Regions from separate parts of the Homo sapiens genome. Here region 2 is linked to region 1. The links are contacts of gene promoters, found by promoter capture Hi-C in blood cells and fetal thymus (Javierre and others, 2016). All regions are on one chromosome and are shown on one strand. The core of a region is centred on a gene start or on the middle of the fragment in contact, and the rest is flanking DNA. Distances in the headings are between cores, read along the strand shown.

What was found. Contacts are between HindIII fragments. The CHiCAGO score rates a contact against its expected background, and 5 or more counts as called.
Region 2: a contact is called between a fragment that was not itself captured here and the fragment with the promoter of MST1R in region 1, in 1 of 17 cell types (erythroblasts). The highest score is 5.6, in erythroblasts.

Annotation. Positions count from the first base shown.
Region 1 is chr3:49,902,615-49,905,314 of GRCh38, forward strand. MST1R (macrophage stimulating 1 receptor) reads right to left here and starts at 1,259. Exons shown (of 20, transcript NM_002447.4): 1 at 1-1,259. The coding sequence starts at 995. RefSeq lists enhancers at 1-283, 284-957, 1,594-1,643, 1,632-2,304 and a silencer at 1,184-1,403. The HindIII fragment of the contact is 26,972 bases long and covers 1-2,700 here.
Region 2 is chr3:49,581,952-49,584,651 of GRCh38, forward strand. The region is part of intron 1 of BSN (bassoon presynaptic cytomatrix protein); the gene reads left to right. Among named protein-coding and RNA genes, the nearest start is that of BSN, 29 kb to the left of the region's middle. The HindIII fragment of the contact is 948 bases long and covers 788-1,735 here.

The DNA.
Region 1 (2,700 bases), core at 9-2,508:
TGGGCACCCACTGGAGCGGAGTGGGCCACCCGCAGCACAGGGTAGGGCTGTCCGCCTTCTGGGGCCCCCCGGCGCCTGCGTTTTGGAGCAAATCTGCAGTCGAGGACCAGCTCCCGATAGTCACCCAACTCTGGCTCAGTGGCGCTAAGCCGTGCCAGGCGTGTGTGCAGGGCACTAGGATCATCTGTCACGCTGGCCGGCTGTACAGTCAGGAAGTATACGAAGGCTCCCGTGTGGAAGCTGTGCACGTATTCAATACTGTAGGAGACAAGATGCTTGGGCAGCACTGACAACGCCACAAAGCCCGGTGCGAATCCCGAGGCGTCAGCCTTGAGACGCCTGATAGACACTGAGCGTGGGCTGAAGCTGGCAGCCACGGCTGCGTCCAGTGAGGATGCCACGTAGAAATAGGAGGCCTGGCCTTGCTCAACCACAGTTACACGGGTGCCCAATGGGCTGGCCACACAGTCGGGGCAGTCATCGGGCCGGTTATGGTGGGCTGAGAAGAGGCAGGCTGGCGCTGCCAGATGCACGGCTGTCCCTTGGGGCTCTAGGTCATGCAGGAAGCAGCGGCCCTGCAGGCTGGAGCCACAACTGACCAGCGCAGGCAGCGCGGGATCCAGCACCAGCACCTTTGTGTCTGTGTCACCGGGAGGGCCGTGGGGTCCTGGGCCACAGGCTGCACACGTCTGGCAGCCAGGGTCTCCAGCAGGGCCCGTGGCCAGGCTCTGGACAGACTTCAGGTCAGGCCCAAGCACATGCAGGCGATTGCGTATGGCTACAAACACAGCACTCTCATTTCTGTCGCCCTCGTAGGTCACCATGGCCTGTACCAGGCCTCCGGCGGAGAAGCTGGGCACCACGTACTTCACGTCAAAGTCGCGAGAGGCCGCGTAGGGGGTGCGCGGGCACTGCCAGTCCTCGCCCGCCGCGGGCTTGGCAGGCAACAGCAGCAGCAACAGGAAGGACTGAGGCAGCGGCGGGAGGAGCTCCATCGAGGCGAGCTGGGACCCTAGAGGATCCCTACCGGCCTGGGCCTGGACCTGGGCGTGGGCCTGGCTGGGGGCCCGACTCGAGGTCTGGACTGGGCCAAATTTAAGCAGCGGTCCCGACAGCCCCAAGATAGCGGACCCCCGCCCCAGGTTCCTGTGAAACCCAAATCCCTTCCCGGCCCTCGGGTCTGAGCACCTGACGCCTGCGGACGCACGACAGCAACGCCCCAGCCGCCTCACCTGCCGCCCCAGCCGCCGCTGTACACTGGCGCTTAGCGCTCAGCCGACCCGAGGGCGCCGGGCTGGGCGGGCGGAGTCGGGCCGTGGGGGCGGGGCCGCGAGGAAGGCTTGGCCTAGCCCAGGCCCTCCGCCCATCCGACTCTTCCGGCCCTTGGAGGCCTGGCTCCTGTACCTTCACCTGGCGTCTTGGCGCCTTTTTCTCAGCGGCCTGTGGGTGGATGTGCATGGTGTGGCCTGGAGAGAGGTGAGCCAGTCTGAGCCGTCCCATCCCATCCCCCCACTACCGACTGGTTCGCAGCGAGAAGGGGGGCAGGACACTGGGCTCTTTGCTTGCGGTGGAACTAGTTTGCACTTAGTAGCAACACCCTCAGTGGCTGGTGCCCAGAGGTGGCCTGGGGGCCCACCATGTGGAGAACAGAGACCAGGATTGTGTGGAAGACCAGAGGGGAGATGTGGGGCACTTACAAGAGATGTTATGGGGCGCCACCCTTTGTGGGAAAGGACTGTCCTTTTTTTTTTTTGAGAAGGAGTCTTGCTCTGTGGCCCAAGCTGGATTGCAGTGGCGCGATCTCGGCTCACTGCAAACTCCGCCTCCCAGGTTCAAGCGATTCTCCAGCCTCAACCTCCTCCTGTCTCAACCTCCTGAATAGCTGGGATTACAGGCGCGCACCACCACACCCGGCTAATTTTGTATTTTTAGTAGAGACAGGATTCACAGTGTTGGCCAGGCTGGTCTCAAACTCCTGACCTCAGGTGATCCGCCCGCCTCAGCCTCCCAAACTGTTGGGATTACAGGCGTAAGCCACCGCGCCCGGCCGGGACCATTCTTCCATGTGCTTCTCCTGAGCTATCAGCGACAAGATGGTGTCAGAGGAAGGTGTGTTATGCCCTGCTCTCCCAGGGCCATAAGGGTCTTAGGATGGGATCTGGCCTTGCTGACTGGACCTCAGAGTCAGAGAGGCACGTAAGTGGAGGCCCATACCTCCTCTGCAGCCTCAGTATATGGAAGCTGTATAATGGGGTCCACAGTATGGGCCTTGGGGACTCCCCCTTCCTTCCTGGCTCTACCCAGTGCCCCCCTGATATGGAGGAATCATGGGCTTTGGCTCTCAGGACACTTCCAACATGCTCTGTAGGCCTTGCTGGATCTTATTCTCTTCAATGAGAATGTAGTTCTGGGCTGGGCACCGTGGCTCATGCCTGTAATCCTAGCACTCCTTTGAGGGGCCAAGGCAGGAGGATTGCTTGAGGTTAGGAGTTCAAGACCAGCCTGGGCAACATAACAAAACTCAACAAAACAAAAAAACTGCTAAAAATGTTTTTAAAATAAAATATGTGACCGGGCGTGGTGGCTCACGCCTGTAATCCCAGCACTTTGGGAGGCCGAGGCGGGTGGATCGCTTGAGGTCAGGAGTTCAAGACCAACATGGTGAACAGACAGATCTGGCCAACATGGTGAAACTATCTC
Region 2 (2,700 bases), core at 12-2,511, 320 kb before region 1:
ATTGGCATTCAAGTATCTGTTCAAGTCCCTGGTTTTACTTCCTCTGGATATAAACCTAAGAGTGGAATTCCTGGATCATATGGTAATTTTATGTTAGGCTTTTCGAGGCGCTGCCAAAAATTTTTCTGTAGCAGCTGTACCGTTTTACATTTCCACCATCATTGTATGAGGGTTCCAATTTTTCCACGTCCTTGTCAACACTTGTTATTTTCTGTTTATTTTGTTTGTTTTTAGTAATAGCCTAAAGAGTGTGAAGTGGTATCTTATTGTAGTTTTGATTTGCATTTTTCTAATCAATGGCTTATTGGCCATTTGTAAATCTTTAGAGAAATGTCTGTTCAAGTCCTTTGCCTATTTTTGTTTTCAAGACAGGGTCTTGCTGTGTTGCCCAGGCTGGAGTTCAGTGGCTATTTACATTTGCAGTCATAACACACTACAGGCTCAAATTTCTGGGCTCAAGCAACCCTCTTGCTTCAGCCTACTGAGGAACTGGAACTACAGGCCCAGCTGAAATGAACTGCCTTTTGTGTGTTGATTTTATATCCTTCAGTTTTGCTGAAGTTGTTTATTAGTTCTAACTTTTTTGTGGCCTGTTTAGGGTTATCTACATGTAAGATCATGTGGTCTGCAGGTAGAGATAATTTTACTTCTTCTTTTCCAATTTGGATGTCCTTTATTTATTTTTTTTCTTGCCCAATAGCTCTGACTAGGACTTCCAGTACTATGTTAGATAGAAATGGTAAAACTTCCTTGCACATCGTTGTCTTGTTTCTGATTGTAAAGGGAAAGCTTCTAATTTTTCACTATTGAGTATTATGTTAGCTGTGAACTTTTCATAAATAGTCCTTATCATATTGAGAAAGTTCCCTTCTATTTCTAGCTTAAGTCTTTTGAATCATGAAAGTGTATTGACTTTTGTCAAATGCTTTTTCTGCATCAATTGAGGTAAACATATAGTTTCTTCCCTTCATTCCCTTCATTCTATTAATATGGTGTATTACATTTATTTATTTATTTATTTATTTATTTATTTATGAGACAGGGTCTTGCTCTGTTCCCAAGGCTGGAGTGCAGTGGTGCAATCTTGGCCCACTGCAGCCTCTGCCTCCCAGGTTCAAGAGATTCTCCTGCTTCAGCCTCCAGAGTAGCTGGGATTACAGGTGCGTGCAACTACTCCTGGCTAATTTTTGTATTTTTAGTAGAGATGGGGTTTCACTATATTGGCCAGGCTGGTCTCAAACTCCTGGCCTCAAGTGATTTGCCCACCTCGGCCTCCCAAAGTGCTGGGATTACAGGTGTGAGCCACTGTGTCTGGAACATTGATTGATTTTTGGATGTTCAGTCAACCTTGCATTCCAGAAATAAAGCCCAATAGAAGGATGTACAATACTTCTAATATGCTGCTGAATTCAGTGTGCTAGTATTTTCTTAAGGATGTTTGCATCTCTTTTCATAAGGAAAATTGATCTGTAGTTTTCTTGTAGTATCTTTGTTGATATTAATTTATTTTTGGCTGGGCACAGTGGCTCATGCCTCTAATCCCAGCACTGTGGGAGGCTGAGGTGGGAGGATCACTTGAACTCAGGAGTTCGAGGCTGCAGTGAGCTATGATTGTGTCACTGCATTCCAGCCTGGATGACAGAGCAAGACCCTGTCTGTTATAAAATAAAATTTTTAAAAAATAAATTCTTTTTCAATGGTTAGTAGGATTCACCAGTGAAGACAACTGAGCATAAGCTTTTCTTTGTGGGAAGTTTTAAAATTACTTATTCAGTTTATTTATGTGTTATAGGTCTATTCCGATTTTTCATTTCTTCCTGAGTCAGTTTTGATAGTTTGCATCTTGGAATTTGTCAATTTCATCTAAATTACCTAAGGATGTGTGGTTGTTCATAGTATTCTCTTGCAATCCGATTTATTTATTTATTTATTTATTTATCAAGATGGAGTCTCGCACTGTCGCCCAGGCTGGAGTGCAGTGGCGCGATCTCGGCTCACTGCAAGCTCTGCCTCCCGAGTTCACTCCATTCTCCTGCCTCAGCCTTCTGAGTAGCTGGGACTACAGGTGCCCACCACCATGCCCAGCTAATTTTTATTTTTATTTTTTTTATTTTTAGTAGAGACGGGGTTTCACCGTGTTAGCCAGGAGGGTCTCGATCTCCTGACCTCGTGATCCACCCACCTCGGCTTCCCAAAGTGCTGGGATTACAGACGTGAGCCACCACGCCCGGCCAATCCTTTTAATTTATTTAAGATTGGTAGTAACATCCTTTCTTTTATTTCTGATTTTAGTCATTTGAATCTTTTTTTCTTTGTTAAAAGAAGGCTTATTGATTTTTTTTTTATCTTTTGAAAGAACCATCTTTTGGTTTTATTGTCTTTCTCTATTTTCTATTCTGTATTTCACCTCTAATCTTTATTATTTTCTTCATTATATTTACATTGTGTTTAGTTTGCTCTTCTTTTTCTAAGTATTAAGTCGGAAGTTTAGGTTATTGGTTTGAGGTCTTTTCTCTTTTTTGTTTTATTTTCTATTTTTCATTTTTTTGGGCACTTAGTAGGTGTATATATTTATAAGGTACCTGAGATGTTTTGATACAGGCATGCATCGTGAAATAAGCACACCATGGAGAATGGGGTATCCATCCCCTCAAGCATTTATCCTTTGAGTTACAAACAATCCAATCACATTCTTTAAGT